Linked DNA regions of Homo sapiens: all the other regions are linked to region 3. The links are contacts of gene promoters, found by promoter capture Hi-C in blood cells and fetal thymus (Javierre and others, 2016). All regions are on one chromosome and are shown on one strand. Each heading gives the region's core, a stretch centred on a gene start or on the middle of the fragment in contact. The rest is flanking DNA. Distances are from core to core; before and after follow the strand shown.

Evidence for each region. Contacts are between HindIII fragments. The CHiCAGO score rates a contact against its expected background, and 5 or more counts as called.
Region 1: a contact is called between a fragment that was not itself captured here and the fragment with the promoter of LINC03031 in region 3, in 3 of 17 cell types (naive CD8 T cells, naive CD4 T cells and megakaryocytes). The highest score is 6.3, in naive CD8 T cells.
Region 2: a contact is called between a fragment that was not itself captured here and the fragment with the promoter of LINC03031 in region 3, in 1 of 17 cell types (non-activated CD4 T cells). The highest score is 5.1, in non-activated CD4 T cells.
Region 4: a contact is called between a fragment that was not itself captured here and the fragment with the promoter of LINC03031 in region 3, in 3 of 17 cell types (naive CD8 T cells, total CD4 T cells and endothelial precursors). The highest score is 6.9, in naive CD8 T cells.
Region 5: a fragment that was not itself captured here is called in contact with the fragment with the promoter of LINC03031 in region 3 in 2 of 17 cell types (naive CD8 T cells and endothelial precursors); the score reaches 7.1 in naive CD8 T cells.

What each region holds. Positions count from the first base shown.
Region 1 is chr11:31,406,224-31,409,505 of GRCh38, forward strand. All of the region lies in intron 2 of DNAJC24 (DnaJ heat shock protein family (Hsp40) member C24), which reads left to right. Among named protein-coding and RNA genes, the nearest start is that of DNAJC24, 38 kb to the left of the region's middle. The HindIII fragment of the contact is 2,557 bases long and covers 316-2,872 here.
Region 2 is chr11:31,090,974-31,094,341 of GRCh38, forward strand. It overlaps DCDC1 (doublecortin domain containing 1), which reads right to left. Exons shown (of 39, transcript NM_001387274.1): 16 at 3,077-3,211; 17 at 420-538. Among named protein-coding and RNA genes, the nearest start is that of DCDC1, 280 kb to the right of the region's middle. The HindIII fragment of the contact is 3,436 bases long and covers 262-3,368 here.
Region 3 is chr11:32,039,521-32,043,126 of GRCh38, forward strand. LINC03031 (long intergenic non-protein coding RNA 3031) reads right to left here and starts at 1,798. Exons shown (of 3, transcript NR_120526.1): 1 at 1,588-1,798. It overlaps LOC105376613 (a long non-coding RNA gene), which reads left to right and starts at 2,444. Exons shown (of 3, transcript XR_931165.3): 1 at 2,444-2,530. The HindIII fragment of the contact is 15,155 bases long and covers 1-3,606 here.
Region 4 is chr11:31,216,732-31,220,340 of GRCh38, forward strand. All of the region lies in intron 9 of DCDC1 (doublecortin domain containing 1), which reads right to left. Among named protein-coding and RNA genes, the nearest start is that of DCDC1, 150 kb to the right of the region's middle. The HindIII fragment of the contact is 258 bases long and covers 2,036-2,293 here.
Region 5 is chr11:31,117,242-31,120,890 of GRCh38, forward strand. The region is part of intron 11 of DCDC1 (doublecortin domain containing 1); the gene reads right to left. Among named protein-coding and RNA genes, the nearest start is that of DCDC1, 250 kb to the right of the region's middle. The HindIII fragment of the contact is 1,320 bases long and covers 1,078-2,397 here.

The sequences.
Region 1 (3,282 bases), core at 344-2,843, 630 kb before region 3:
TTTTTCATAGTTTCAATGTAATAGAATGACATAGTAAATACTTGTTCACTAGGAAAGAGTATGAGAGAAAAGGCACTTAAGTGCAGTACCTCAGACTAAACCTAAAATTTATCTCTCCTCCTGTATGTTGCTGACTAAAATCAGTAAGTTTCATATTTTGTACTTTTGGGGAAAATATTAAACACACAGCTTAAATATACAAATATTTATGAAGGATACTTGTGCGAAGAGGCACTGTGCTGATCTTTGCACAGATATGGATATAGTTAAAATACGGTGTTTATATATTCAGTGTTTAATACTTGTAATAGATAAAGCTTGAATGGTAGGTTGTGGTTCTTATATTGTAGGACTTTACTTTTAAGGATAAAGAGTTTCACTGTAATTCACTATGCATTAGTTGGCCCTTTAAAATTTATGAGCTGGGGAATGACATGGTCAGAGTTATGTTGAGTGACTTTGAAGCAGGTAAGATGGATTGGAAAGCTGTTAGAAGATGATTGCTGGGGACTAGTTAGGAGCTAATGTTGGTCTGTACTAGGTTTGGTATTGGGAATAGAAAGGAAATTATGTAGGTATAATCTATAGATTTGGCAGTTCATGGGAGGAGGGAAAGAGGGGTTACCCTAATATTGATAGTCTGGATTATTAGAAAAATTTTTCCCCTCTCATCCATTCATTTAGCATTTATTGAGCGTGGAGTTATTTTTTAACAGAGCAAGGAATTCAACAGGAGGATAAACAAATTTTAGAGTCTGGATAATATATTGGATATCAAACATATTAAACTTGTGCTGACAAGGTAGCTTCTAGAAAGTATTTCAAAATTTGGTTCTAGAATTCAAGAAAATTTGAAGCTAGAGACAGAGAGCTAGCATCCTATTGATGGTACTAAAACTCATCTATTAATACATAGGGAAAACCAAAGTGCTATGTCCTCAAGTGCCACATTGATAAATCAAGTAATATTAGCCTATTTGGGGATTTCTGTGTAATCAGATTTGCCCAGAGTCCTTTTCATGGTTTATTGTTACTTCTTATGTATAGTTTATATTTTATGTATCAAAACAGCACAATCACAAGTGTGTAGTTAAGGATTAATATATGTAGCCACTTTACCATAAAACTCTTACGTGTTTACTGTAAAGAAATATCATTTCATTTCAACTTTATATGTTGTGTAGCCAATAGAAAATATCATTTGGAGCTAATGAATATATAATATTCACAAGGTGGATGGATTACTTGAGTCTTGGAGTTGGAGACCAGCCTGGGCAATATGGAAACCTCATCTCTACAGAAAATACAAAAATTAGCCAGGTGCGGTGGTATATGCCTGTGGTTCCAGCTACTTGGGAGGCTGAGGCGGGAGGATCGCTTGAGCCTGGGAGGCAGAGGTTGCAGTGAGCCAGGATCACTCCATTACACTCCAGCCCAGATGACAGAGAGAGATCCCATCTCAAAAAAAAAAAAAAAAAAAAAAATATATATATATATATATAAAATTTTTCACTAAAATCTTTTAGAAGTTGCTAGAATTTTCACACTGCATTGTATGATGCTATTTTCATAATTTTACATGCTTCATTTCTTAGTTGAAAAACTTGTTTCTGTGCTAAATTTATCAGTGGGTATCATCATTAGTGTTAAGTAGGTGAAGCCTGATACAAATTATGCCCCTCTCTTAAAAAAAAAAAAATAAACAGGTTAAAATACCACTGGCATATTGTTCACATTTCATCAGCATCTTCATCTGTGACATAAGATGGTATCAATACAAACAGTGGAATGAAGAAGTTGACATTTATGATTAGTGAACGAAAGGTATCAAATATAAAAAAAATTCCGACTTGAAACACATTGCAATTTTCATTGTGGTGTTACAGGTTATTGGATTTTTTCCCCCTCTTTTTGGTGTACATACTTGGAAGGACGCATCTGTCACAGGAAAATTTTTGTGAAGCACTCATCTTCTGACTTGCCCATGAATTCCTTGTTTTAAGCAGTCAAGGCAAACAGTGTGCTTCTCAAATTTTAGCACGCGTAACAGTTGCTTGGAGAGCTTGGTGAAACAGAGATTCTGGAGTCCTCCCTCTGAAGATTTGAGGTGAGTCCCAAGAATTGATATTTGTAACAAGCTCTCAGATGATGCTGATGCTGCAGTTCTGAGGACCACATTTTGAGTAGCACTGAGGTGACACATTGTGACAGTCACTCTGGAATTAGTAATTTAGAAAGCACTTAGACTTAATATGTAGAGAGACTTTAAAATCAAAATAAAATATTTCATACTGGACAGCCCATTGCCATAAAATCTCAGCTGATGAGAATTAAGATTTCATAACTGAAGTGTTACTTATCCATGAAATAGTCATTTAGAAAACAGATAACACATACCAATCCTGATGAAATATTATATCATTTCCTGTATATCTTTTGTAGTACCATGAATGATCCTTTATTTTTGTATCAAGAAAGTTTCTTAATCTATTTTTGTGTTAGTTTTTCTTATTCTCAATGAATGATATGGTAATTTAAAGAAGAATTTAAGTTTATGTAATTGAAAATTTTCCCCAAAATTTGAGGAAATTACTTAGATCATACAGTTATAGGTGTGAAGTCATTTCAGAGTAATAAAATAGCACTTTACTGAAATTTTGGAAATAGATGTCTTTGTATAATAAAGAATCACACAGATACTATCACTCTCAGTATTTCTAATATTGTGACATATTTATGGTATTTTAATTTTGGATGCATTTTGGCTTTCTACTCAACAATGCTTAGCCTTTTAAAATGTTTTGAAGTTATTAGAGTTGGCAAATGTGCTTGAAAGTAATAAAACAATTTCCATAAACTAGTGTGTAATTCAAGCTTTTCACTAATTCATGTTAGTTTTTCCATTAATTTTTTGGTTTTCTGTTGTACTTGTTTTTCTATTAATGGAAGAAATTCCTTATTTTTCCTTTATGGCTTAGAAAGATTTGCTAAATTCCTTTTTAAAAATTTAGACATGTCTGAAGATGTTTTTCTGTTGATATTGTCAACATAAAATGAAAAATGCACAGATCTTAAGTGTTAAGTTTGGTGAGTTTGATATCATGTAAATACCACCCCAAATAAGATATAGCACATTTCTGTGCCTCCAGCAAGTTCCCTCATGCCCCTCTTTCTTAATTTCCACTACCTGTTCTCACCTGGAAACCAACTTTTTGGTTTCTGTCGCCACAGATTAAATGTACCTAAATTGGGATTTCATGTTCATGTAATCATACAGTATGT
Region 2 (3,368 bases), core at 730-3,229, 950 kb before region 3:
GTTACAAGCCAGCATTTTTTGGTCTCTGTGATTATTCTTTCACAGTTCAATGTTTTGTATTCAGAAGATGGAAAAAGGTTATGAATATACACAAAAATTTAAGTTTGTTAATTAACAATCAAAATGGATATAAAGAAATGAGTTCTGATAATTATAGAGTAAAGCAGCAGTTTGTCTACGACATAGATACATGTTGAAGGCCAACATTTCACCTTTTAAATATCTTTAAAACACTACCAAACTAAGTGGCATACATTTTCAAGCTTACTTTGGATTCAGAAATTAATATTGTTATTATGAACACAAATTTAAACATTGAATGAATATTCAATCCAAACCAGGAGGCATCACAATTGAACTGCTCAGAATTCTTGAAATTAGCATTTATTATCTTGAGCTAAATAATTTATAAGCATTACCTTTTCTGTAAGATTAATTTATATCCTTCTAGTGATGTTCCCTCAGCAGCCTTGACTCTGATAGGATGACCAATAGCCAGGCAGCCCTGAGTTATCGCTCGGCTCAGGATCATTCCAGTCTTCCAATGAATAGAGAGGGGGAGAAAGGTCTAAATAAGTTAAAAGAACCAGAAAATTCAACAATGTGTCACAAATAGTGAGGTCATTATGCCTGGATAACCCTGGATATTAACAGTTGCTGAAAGTGAAACACTACCCACAACTTAGCAGTCAGCGAGCCCTGCTCAGAATCAGTAATCTTCTGTCCAACAAGGGTGGCATTTTACAGTTCAGTGCGAAATAAAACAGACCTTGATATCTTCATTTGTCTTTTTTTTTCTGTGCATATTTCACAGTGCAGCAATTTGGGGTCCATCACGTGTCACTTGCTGTAGTTATAACTACAGAGCTTACCGGAAATATGTATGCACAGAAAAAAAATAGTGCAGTGAACTGAAAAGACTGAAACAAATCCTTAACCTTTGTATCAATTTAAAGTTTTACTCTGGGTCTAAATATCATGGGTTAAACATTTTAAGGTGGTTTGTGAACTGCTTTTATTTTAAATGTTAGGATTTTCTGCCAAGGAAATTAAAGGGGAATATTGCTTGAAGGGCCATTTAACCATTTTCTTACTTAGTGAGTCAACACAACATTTTTTATAAGTGACAACCATAGAGAAATTTGTCTACATCTACTGGAGATTTATGGCACGTAAAATTCTCTCTTAATAGGTAAAAAGATGTATTTTTAAAACAGGAAGAGAGAGTTCAATCTTAAAGGATTTTCAGAATTGTTTCCTTTTTAGCATATACTTTATTTCTCATGTGTTTGCAGTGTGGAAAAGAAACATGATGATGACTGATGACTTACGAAAAATATTTCTAAAAAAAATTGGTTTTAGTAAGTACTGAATGAAATCCTTGTTTGATCATGCTTGTCTATACAGAAAAAAGAACTGCTTAGGGTGAGGAAAGGCAGCCATCATTTATTAAGCACTTTCTGTATACCAGACACCATGCTTGAACATCACATATGCTTTCTCATTTCATCTTCACAGCAACTGTGCAAAGCAGATAAGACTAACATCATTTATAGAAGAGAAAACAGTAGTTCAATGCAGCTAAGTAACTTTCCCAATGTCACACAAGAGATTTCAATTATTTAATAACTCCAAAACTATACTCTTTTGGTAGGCATTCCAATTATTTTTGAGGAGATTTTAGACAAGTACATGTTTTCTGCTATCATGAAATTCTAGAAACAGATACCATGAAATGAAAGAATATGGGATCTGAGAATGGACCTTCCATAGCAACTGGTCCAACTCTTTTTGATAGAACACCAAGGCCTAGATACCATGTGTGACTTGTCTGCTGTCATATAGTTATTCAGTGGCAGTGCTGGGACTAAAACACTTCCATTATGCTCACAGGTGAGTCAAATATAGAGGAGTGTTTTATATCACAATGAAAGTTCTGAAGTCAAAGAGACCAAGAATCTTTCTTCTGCTATTACTAACCTCAGTTTCTTCAGCTGTATAATAAAAATCTGCACAGTTCTTGTAACATTAAATGAAATAATGAATGTGAATAAAGTACCTAATGTAATGTCTGACATACAGTATTCAACTAAGTGGAGATGTTATTATTATTAAATCAGAAACAAAATACCATGTAAAAAGGGCAAATAGTTAACATAGACTCCAGCTGGAAATCCAGATTTCAGGAAAAGCTCATGTAAACTTACTATGCTGTGATATATGAAATAAATAATATGTCTTAGTACCTTTGTGTCTTAATTATTCTATATGTTTGTTTTTAACTTTTAAAGAACAATAGCTAAGGGCAATCCAAAATTTCATTTGCGAAAATAGTGTCAATCTTCCCTCCTCCCAGCAAACTTCATTGGGTGACTTCGCATTCACAGGAGTGCTAAGTAGTAGCAAAATCATCTGTGATGACGGGACAAAGGGAGATACAGGAAAGATAATTGTGAACTGCATCATCTCTTTTCAACATAAATACATATTTACAAAATGTACTGCAGTAGTAAGATGAAAGGAAAGGACAATTTTATGTTCTTCTATAAGTCATATACAATAGTACAATAATAAAGTGAAAAATATTAAATATTACCAACACACAGGAACAAAATGTGTTAGGCACTGCTCATGTTTATACTCAGGGATTTCTTTTAAAACTACGTCCTTGCTAAGACAATATGCAAAGTTGGTATATGTTGGTAATCTACCAGGCTCAGGAAAGCTGAGGGGTAAAACTCAAAATGAAGATCTAGGAGTAGAAGCACATTCAGACAAATCTCATGAAAATGATGAGTCTGTGGACTACAAACAAATTCTATGCTTGGTTTAAATACACTGTGAGGTATAAACTAATCAGCAGCATGTCTGATAGTGAACTGAATGCTCATTTGAGAATCTACAGAAGTCCCGTGGGCTAGGCAATACCAACGGCAGAGATGGCATCTATAACAGCCAACAATTTATCACGCTTTCACTTGTATGCCCATGTGCATGAGAGCACCAGGTGCCAGCAAGTGCCGTGAGCCAGCAAGCAAGGGGAGGTCACTCAGCAAAAGCAGACACTCTTAGGTACCTTGGTGATCAGCCACACACTGGCTACAGGCCACAGGATCGATGGCGCTATTTGACTCCTGCTGCTTGCTTCACTGCCTGAGAAACTCCACTTTCCAATGGAAACAGAGGCATGAAGGACAATATTGGGATCTACCTGTATCATAAGAAGAAGTATGCATTTTTAACTCATAGTCTAAGAGTTAAACTCCTCAACACACTTACCCAAAATAAGTTATCCTAGAACATTATTTATTCTGATTGATACCTCTTTTCAAAAAGTAGCATTCAATCCCCTTTAATTCAATTCAATC
Region 3 (3,606 bases), core at 548-3,047:
GTTTTTAATTATTTGTGCCCAAGGAGTTTTTGTTTTTGTTTTTTTGTTTGTTTGTTTTTAATTTAAACAAGAAGGTGTTAAATCCTCTGCTATCTGGGGAGAACTGCAGTGCCCAAACACCCACCCTTCTCTTTCTCTTGGACTTCAGTGTTATTAGATGAGGTTTGGGAAAGTTTTATTAGCACTTTTTATCATGACACTGGGACAGGAGAGAAAATGAATTCAAGCTCTACCAGGGTTCCAGTGTTAAACTTGGAAGGTGCTCACGGCCACGCTCAGCCTTACTGTAGGATATTACTTGAGTGAGTGCACACCCTCCCCACAAACTGAAGTTCTACTACACGCCTTCACTCATCTCCTACCACTCTTACTGGGTTGCATTTCAGCCTCACTGGCCTGCTTTCCTTCCTTGAACTTGCTAAATCCACTTCTGACTTAGGATCTTCCCACCATTTCCTTTGCCCAGAATGTTCTTTCTCCCCTGGCTCCTTCATGATACTGAGGTCTTCAGCATAAGCATCATATCCTCAAAGAAACCTTCCCGTATCACCCTGTTCCAGGCCTTTATTGTTGCCACACCAAAACAGTGGCTTAAACATTAATAATTATTTATTTGGCTCTGGAGTCTGAAAGAGTGAGATCTCAGCTTAGGAGTTCTCACTCCAGGTCTTTCATGTGGTTGCTGTCCAATGGGCATCTTGAAGTTTTTTCCATCATGTATCTGGGCTGGGAAGATTCAAACATCTAGGTGCTGGCACTGCTAGCTGCTCAGGTCTCTCTCTCTCTCATTCCTCTGAATTGTCTGTCCACATGGAGACTTCATGATAGCTGGACTTCTTACATTCAGCTGAAGGCACCTAGAGTGAATGTTCCAAGAAAAATCAGCAGAAGCTGCATGGCCTTTTCAAACTGATAGCCACTTCCTTTGTGTCCTATTCTTCCAGGTAGGTACAGAAGCCCCTCAGGTGCAAGGGGAAGGGACATAGACTCTACCTACTAGTAGAACAGTATCGAAGTACCTGAAGACTTGCTTTAAGACCACCACACACTACATACTTTATAAAACAGCCTCCCCAGCACCATATCACTTCACTTTATTATAATTCTTTGCATAGCCCATAGTGCTATATGTCATATTTTCTTATTTGTTTATTTTCTCTCTAGCCCCCAAAAGAATATAAATTGTGAAAATAGGGGCCTTATGTGTCTTATTCACCACTGTATCCTGGTGTTCAGTGGAGCAGTGCCTGGTACTTAGTAGACAATAAGTATCTATCAAATATTAATAAGTGAATGAAGGATAAATGGCAAGGGCTATTCTGAAGGGTCATCTCACTGAGATTGTTACTGTGGGCTCCATTTTGGATGACGATGGACCCTCCTCACCCTCCTTTTTCTACTTCCTTCTTTTTACCTCCCTTCCCTCTCTCCCACAAAATAATTTCTAATCACCGATGTCAGTATTTCAAACCTGGAGTCCTTAGTATAATTGTGATCCATTGGATTCAGCTTTTACCACCTTGTTTTTGAAAACAAACATACCAAAGCATGCCAATTTCATCATTTGGGTATGTCAAGGATACTTACACAAGCCTGCACCTGGCTTATTTTACAAATCACAGATTGGCTTGAATCTGTCTTTTGTTTCTTAGGATTTTTTGGTTGGTTTTGCTTTGTTTTTTTGCTTTCCTTCCAGCCAGATAAGCTGAGATCTGGTCTGTTTCCACTGAGGGGTAGTCATCAGTCTACCCTTCTCAACATTTCTGTTCCTGAGATTTAGCTACAGACTTCACAAGCTGTAACATTCTAACTACGTGTCATTGCCACCATTGTCTCTTGTCACAATCCTAATTCTATGTTCTGATAATAAAACTTCATTAGTGTCTGCACCTCCTTTCCCGTACCTTTGAAACACTGTCTTCTGCTGAAACGATTAGCAGTGCGCTGCGTCAGATCATCCGGCTGTCTGACAGCCATTGTGAGTGAGCTAAATTGTGAGAAAATGAAAATTTCTGACAATTTCCATTATTGTCAAATGGAGATATTTACTTGTACAAATATTAAAGGTTATTTAAAGATGTAAACGGACTTCATTTCATTAGTGGTATGCATCAGGTAATAATTTAAAACAACTACCCAGCCTCATTCAAATAAATTACCAATTCATTTTCTGAAAGAAAAATGTCATTTCTCCAGGCTGTGTTTTTAACTGCTTGCAATGGTAGAAGATTAAAAAAAAAAAACCTATGAATATTTCAGAACAGAAAATGTTCAAGTTCTCATATTGTTTAACATAAACCAGACAAAGGGCTATTGTTCTGAAAACCTGACTGAGAGTTGCCCAACCAGAGGAGACAGTGAAAGATCAATGACATCAAAATGGGCTTTAAAAAAAGGAATAGTAGCAATGGTGATTACATCTTCCTGAATTCCAGTTCTAGAACTTCACTAGAAAAAAATCAGGATGTGTGGAAATACTTATCTACAAGGATGTTCATCCCAGTGTTATTTATAATGGCAAAAAAAGAAGGTAGGAAATGAAAAAAAATATGTATACAAGGCTAAGGGATTGCAGGTGTTTGAGACCAGCCTAGCCAACATGGTAAAACCCCTTCTCTACTAAAAAAAAAAAAAAAAAAAAAATTAGCCAGGCGTGGTGGCGGGTGCCTATAGTCCCAGTTACCCGAGAAGCTGAGGCATGAGAATTGCTTGAAGCTGGGAGGTGGAGGTTGCAGTGAGCCGAGATGGCAACACTGCACTCCAGCCTGGGTGACAGAGAGAAACTCCATCTCAAAAAAAAAAAAGACTAAGGAATTGGACAATATATTAGAATACAGCCATATGATGGTCTGGAGTAAAGATGATTAATAAATGTATTGTAGAAGAATTCATTATAAATAATATGTAATAAATAGGGCACGGTGGCTCATGCCTGTAATCTGAGCACTTCGGAGGCCAAGGCAGAAGGGTTGCTGGAGGCCAAGAGTTTAAGACCAGCCTAGGCAACATAGTGAGACAGTCTCTATAAAGAATTTTTTAAAAATTAGCTGGGCATGGTGGCGCACACCTGTAGTCCCAGTTACTCAGGAGGCTGAGGCAGAAGGATTTTTTTGAGCAGAATAATTCTAAGATGCTGTGAGCTGTGACAGTGCCACTGTACTCCAGCCTGGATGACAGAGTGAGACTCTGACACAAGAAACAAAACAAAACAAACAACAACAAAATAATACATATACTATGATATCATTTATAAAAAGATAAACATCTATATTTGCATTGACATGGACGCAGGGAGGGGAACATTACACACCGGGGCCTGTGGCGGGGTGGGGGGCTAGAGGAGGGATAGCATTAGGAGAAATACCTAATGTAGATGATGGGTTAATGGGTGCAGAAAAACACCATGGCACATGTATACCTATGTAACAAACCTGCACGTTCTGCACATGTATCCCAGAACTTAAAGTATAATAATAATAATAATAAAAAAATCTTGGTGTAATGTTGGACAACAAAAAAAAAAAGGAAGAGAAGGACTAAGAAGAAATAGATCAAAATGATTACTTGGTAGTGGGATCACTGGTAAGTTTTTAATTTTCATGGGTA
Region 4 (3,609 bases), core at 915-3,414, 820 kb before region 3:
TTAGCTTTCCCCATACAAGACAGAGATGGTCTGTGGCCTTCAATTTTAAAAGATCTCCCTCATTTTCCCACCTCTGAACCTCATGCTGAAGCCTAGATTCTGTGCTGACTGGGTTTCTTGCTTTTACTCTCAAAATAGCCAGAGTAGTCTACAAAGCATAAATCAGTTCCTCTCATCCCTCAATGTTTGGTTTCTAAATCTTTATTTTAAAAATTAATTCTACATGTGAACTTTACTTCAATAAATATGTTTATTAATTAACATAGATTGTATTTCTCTTAGAAACAACATTACAAATGGGGTGAAAAGGGCAATAAAGAAGGATCCTCCCTGCTGGGGTAAATCACTCCCCCTCCTCTACATTAAGCCTACAACAGGGAGAGGGAGATGATAGAAAAGGGAGGTAAGAGGCACACTCAACTTTTAACATTTCACAGAAGTGTCAAAAGCAAGCTGTCATTTCACAAAGATAAATTATGGGAAGAAGCAGGTGCAATGTCTTTACTTTTGGTCTGTGCTGATTTGCATATTTGAAAATAGGTAAGTCTATTTGTAAGTATATACAAATTTTTATGTATAATCTGAACTATATGGACTTCAAAGTGATTTTAAGTCAATTTTTTAAAAAACTAAGTTTTTAGATACTCTGATCTGGAGGACTATAAACAACTCCGGTCGATTTTGAAAAGCTGTCATAGTAAGTTAAATCACAAATGGGTCAAGTATATATGTATACAAAGGAAGAGCACAAACTAGTCCATATTATCCATCTATAAGTTAGACATAAAATAGAAAACTAGAAGCACCTCTGTAAGAAAAGATCCAAATGTTATCACTGGAAACTATCTTCTACAGAAAAACTATGTACTTCTATATGTGCCATCCCATTGTTTATCCACTGAAACTATTCTGTTTCAGGCAAGGATATACTCAACTCAAAGGGGAATTAATTACTGAAAGACAGGATATTTTAAAAATAAGAAGTAGTAAAACACATATTATTATAAATGATACAACATTTAATCCCACATGCATGCTAATAAGATTTTCTTTCTAAATTTAACAAAAGTCACTAAAGTAATATCTCTTCATTTTTATAGAATTGTCAGAGAAGTAATATGCAAGTGGAATTCAACTGAAAAAATAGATTTTTTCATAATGTGTACTCTATATCTCTGCCCATGTCTCCCAACAAAGATAGTGTGTCCAATCTGTTTTGGCTATTGGCTATTGTTTGAAAATCTATGCTATATATTTCAAAGAAATATCAGCATTACAAAATGCAGAAATATCTCCTCTCTAAAATATGTACCCACTAAGTGGAGAAAACCTTTTTTCCTAAATTTTTATCTTTTACTTTTTATCTTTTGTCATTTGCTTTAAGAAAAAAAAAAGTCGTAATATAAATATTTCCAAAGCAGAAAATATAATTACAGATTTTTTTAATTAATGAGAACATTGAAAAAGAAGAGAAAATATTTCTAATGTGTACTGAAGTTCTCACAAAAGCCAAAACACTAGAAAACTAATGCAATTGATAATACACATTGGTATAAAATACAAGATATTGTCATCATCATTCTTCTCAAAAGCTTTTCTCTTGATACTCTAAGAATAAATGTTTATAGGGAAAAAATTAAAGCAATCACTTCCTTTTCAAATCCAACTTTCTATGTTTCCAATTTCAAGTCACTACTTAAATGTAACAAAAGATTCTGTTTTCCTTAAAGAGACATTCACTTTTTTAAAGCTATTATCATTAGAATGCTGCCTTGATTTTTATTTTCCCTGACATCAGGTTATTTGGGTTACATTTATTGCCCAGTGTCCAATGACATTTGCAGAGAGCTTCCAGAACTAAATTTTATCTTTTATGACATCAGCATAAATATACTTTTATAAAAGAAAAAAAGGGTCATAATAAAATGTAACAGCTAAATGTCAAACAGATGATAAGTTGGAGAGGATTAAAAACTCAGTGTCTAACTCTAAGTAACGTTAATATTTCAAACCTATATTCTAACTTTTAACTTGAAGCTTTCTACCTTCATTCTTCCTCCCTCACTCCCATTAACTAGTATATTAGTTGTGTACCAAAACTGGAAAAATCCCAATATTATGACAAGGTCCTAATTTTTAGTAAAATTTGGTGGGTAGATATGTAATTTTGCTGAAATTAGATGGCAGAGCATTCTGAGCATATGAGGTGCTGCTTTAAAGTAATGAGGCTGATTCTCATGCATGGCTTGAAGAAACAGTGAAGGAGTGATCATAGCAAGGACAAGTTTAAACAAGCTTTGACCTGGAAGAACGGAGCTCCGAAGGCTGGCCAGCCCATGCCTGAGTTGGTGCTAAAGAAGCACACACACTCTCACATACATACACACACACACAGCCCACATTACAAAGCAAACAATTTAGAGCACAAAACAATTTACAGTTAAAAAAAAAAGTAAAAATTTTAGAATAAATTTAGATTTTTAACAAATGTATCTGCAAAATAGTACATGACCTGTAAAAAGAAGCTGGAGGGGATAAAGTTATGTCAAAAACAAGATTTTTTTTAACTGATCTCAAAAATTTCATTAAGAAAATAAGACTCACTCTCACAATACTTCAACCTAGCTTGAGTATCAGAATCAACTCTAGAGCATTTTCAATAAACTAGCCCCCTGGTCCTGCCCAGGTCTGCTGAATATAAACATGAGCAGAGGCGGGACCTATGTGATTCTGATGCTGTCAGGCTTAGAAACCCCTTACTGTAAGACAGAAAATGTTGAAGATATGATATTTAGTGCATTCAAATAAATAATTGAAAGAAAGATGACCAAAGAGTTAAATTTAGTCAAAGAATTAGACTTATTCTAAAAGAAATCTTGAAAAGGGTTTTCATTCTTTCACTGGTTTATCAACAAATATACCAACTAAGGACAAGGCACTGTGCTCGACAAAGGTGGCAGGCAGTGATTGGATATGAGCAGAGAATGATGATATGATGATGGTAATAATAGCTAATATTTATTGTTTTCTATAAGCCAGGCACCATATAAGCACATATAAATTTTACCATTTTTAGGTATTATCTCATTTTTAAGTGTTTACAGGTATAATCTCACAACAATCCTATTATTAACCTCATTTTACAGATAAGAAACCTGAAAACAGGGGTTAGTTAACTTGCCTAAGACCTCAGAGCTGGTTAAACACGAAAGCCTGGACTTGACCTGAAGCAATCTGACTCCAGCCCCCACACCTGAAACAGTACAGGATACTGGATTGGCCAGAAAATTTTTTAAAATTACTCTGAAGATACGCCATGAATTTCATGTGAACAGAAAAAGAGAAGATTTAATAACAATAACCCTATATTCTAGGAAGTCCATGTCAAAATCACCAGTGAAGATAATTTTATTTCTTTGACACAAATGACATTCTTATAAAATTCATACCACAAAATAAAACACTCAATAAGGATTATCATGTACAATTCCTGAAGCATTTAGAAGAATCTTTGAAACGTGTAATGGGCAATATTTATCTAGGAATTAGGTCCTAATGAAAATACGCAGCTTCATAATATATTCTTGATGAAACTATTTTTGATACTTA
Region 5 (3,649 bases), core at 488-2,987, 920 kb before region 3:
GGCAACAGTGGTTTCACACGGGGAATCAGATCTGATGAGTGACTATGTGGAAGCAGCCACTATCCTGGCTTCAAACAGGGTAGATCCTACTTTTATCTATTTTACATAGTAGATTCCAAGAAAGAATTTTGATTTCAGGAAAAAAAAAAAAATTCTAAACTACTATCTTAGCTCAAAACAAAGAATGGCATGTCTCTTTCCTAAGAGCAAGTTTTGAGCAAAGGGTGGTAATAAGAGCCTGGGTTATCTGCCAGCCCTAATGGAGGGCTGGAGCAGAGGAAGGGCCAAAGGAGACTCCTGTAAAATGGCCCTCATCAGCTTCTCAGTGATCTTGGGAGTGGGCCCACATTCCTTCCTTGTAAGTATCTAAACTCACTTTCCATTGTTTTCTTATAGTATTTTTTTAAATAGTCTTACCCCATTTTGCTGTGACTATTGACAAAAAATAAGGCATATGTTTCTGCAAAAAAAAAACAAAAAATCAATTTGTATCCAATTGCAAATCTAAGTTCAATATATGAAAATGTTTAAAACTTTCCAGAAGACAGTGGCAAAGGAAATTTGCTTGCGTGTCATGTCCTAAGCCAAGTAATTTCAAAAAGCCCTTTATAAATGGAATATCTCAAGAAGAATTGCAACAAGGATTTCACTTTGTCTAAATTAACTTAATCCCTAAAATTATATTTAATCGGGATTAAAATATCAGGCATGTGGGTCCTGTCAGTAGCTGAGTATGATGTATTTTGTAAAAAGAGCTTGGTAAATAAAGGTTTTTGGAGTTTCCTGGCACCAATATATTTATTTTTATAGAAAGTCAGTGTTTTTTTGATGAGAAAAACATAGTCATGTGCCCCTCAAATTTTATTTTACTAGGAGAAATGAACATTGTAGGATTAAATATAAACTAAATCATCAAACTTTCCCCAAATTATCAGCCTTATAGATCATATTCTTACCCTTGGAAAGAGTGTATGCTTTTACTGCCATTCAGTTTCATTTCTTTATATCAAATATGCCTGTAAACATAATTTTCCCCTAAAGTGAATGAGTATCCTGAGAAACTAAAAGCTGTACAAAAGCTTACTATCTATAATAAAACATTTATATTTTAAGAAGTAATCCATTTTTTTCATCATAAAACACAATCAAAACTAGGTAGAATCTTAAGTAGGTGTAAATTCATCACCCCATTTTCACTTACGAGAAAATCTGCATTCATTTATGTTCAAATGAAGAATTTATGCTCGATAACGTTCATGGTGAGTCAGACTAACATAGATGTCAGTCGGTAATCCAGGGGACGGGAACATATGTAGGAAAGGAATCTCAGCAACTTGAACATATCAAACACTCCGTGAAAAAGCTAATTGAGAGGTAAAAACAAATTAACTGTTATGGAGAAGGACAATCTCACTGAGAGAGAGTGTGTGCCTGCAACAGTAAGGTTCAGTGGTTGCATTTAGTCCGAATAACTGCTGGGACAGTAATACAGCTCTGGCCTGTGGACTTTCCCCGCTGACTGCCCACCTGGCAATTCTCCGGGCACCTTCTAGGATGTCAGGCCTGCACAGGGAAAGCCTGTCTCATTATAACAGGCACTGCATGGGAGCTAATGCCCAGACCAATTGCTCTTCCCTGATTTTGATACAGACGCAGTTTTTCTCTTCAGCACATCTTGAAAAGGAAGATTGTATCTTCCTACGGAGATTTACACCTGACTGCAGATGCCTGTCAGAAAATAAGGTAGTATGAATATACTGGCATTTTCCCCCCAAAATCCACAAAGAGGAGGAGGAGTGGGGCAATGAGGACAGGAGGAAGAAAAGGTGGTGGCAAGATGGAAAAGAGCGCTGCAAAGAAGAGTCAAGAGATTTCAGCACCTGCCGCTAATTAGCTATCACATGAGATGTGTAAAGGCTTCGTAGGATCTGTTTCTTTACCTTTAAAATGGGCAGTCCAATATTTTCCTACTATCGTAAAACCTACATATGAAAATTGATCATCTTCATTACATTTTGCCCAACCTTTAGTGAATGTTCTCAAAATCACAATAACCTTGAATATTCCAATTTTGCTACTCTCACCACAATTCCTTTTCAAATGAACGCAAAGTTGGCATGTTTTACTAACTGTACCTAAGCCATATCCTAAATTTGTTTCCCATTGTTTACTCAAATAATTTAGGTGACATAACAGAGCATCCTAGGGGTTATAAATACATGTTTAGGAAAAGTGGTTAAATAAGAACGACACGGATCAAGGAATGTACAATGGAAATAACGTAATATGCACATAGAACAGTGAAAACACCAACCAAAAAAAATCTTGTCACACTTTCATGTGCAACTGACCTTAGTTATCATTTAATTGTTCCATAGATTCCTAAATATTAAAATAAGCTTTCTATTAATACAAATGAATGATTGGAAACTTTAAACTTTTTTAAAAATGACCACAAAATAGAAGGCAAATCTCAACTTCTTTCATGGTGCTTTTGTGCCATTCAAAGAATAAATTTAAGTATTCAATGCACAGGAAAGTCACATGTTTTCTGTTACCAACCAAATTAGCCCATTTTCAAAATGTAAAGAGGCCTGGGAACTTAAAATAATGGAATTGTAGTAAAAAGGTAAGAAGATGAACAGATTGGTTTTGCTAATCTGTTCATAGTGTTGTCATATTGTTTCTAATTGTATGAAAATAATCGTGGCCTTGGGTCAAAAAGGTGTTCTATGCTTCTCTGCATCTTCCCACAGTTCCTAGCACAATGTCTTCTGGACAAGGCTATTTGATAATATGTGGATTTACTGGACTATTCATTTAAAATCTTCTTCCTTTCTGTCATTGGCAGAATAAAAATTGTTAGATGCATACAACCTGGATGATGAACTAGATGCTGGATGAAGACATCCTTTAAAAAAGAAATCTCTGAATTATCCCTTTAACAAAGCTTAAATTTACTTACAATAGAAGAGAACACTATAACTAAACAATATAAAAATAGAAAGCCTAAAAATGTCTCCAAATCAGAGTGCTATGAATCTTGTTATTATCCAGGTTACTAAATTCCACCATATTTCTCTTGCTCATGGTCAGAGTGGATTTAAGTGAAGTTAATGAAGATTAGAGTCATTCTAGGTCCTAAGAGTTCTGGAAGTTGTCATAAAATACTTCTGTGTAAGTATTTCTGATGAGCTGCCTAAAAAAGACCCAGAAGAAAGAGCCTGAATTGCCAACACTCCATTGATTTGTTGCGATTTACTTTCTCATTCTAAATAAATATTCACTTTCAGACCTAATTTCAAAGAGAGCTCCCCACCCCAAGCTGGCTCCCAAATTTGACAAGCTCTAGGTCCCACAGAAACTGGATCTGCCTCTACTGGCAGCAAATAGAAAACAACTCTCAGAGCATCACTGACCAATTGTGTGTGAAATTCACTAATTCCAGTGAAAGGATATGCCTGTACTCATCTTCCTCTCATTCCCTCATGCTTTCTCCCACCTACTCAGACATCACACATTCTCCTTGCTCATCAATTCTCTGTCACAATCACCCACCTTCCTACTAGCTTTTCCACTCACCATCCCCCTACAGATTTGCTAATACCCTTTCCCAGCAATCCTTTCTTTCCTGCCCTCCCAGGGAAAT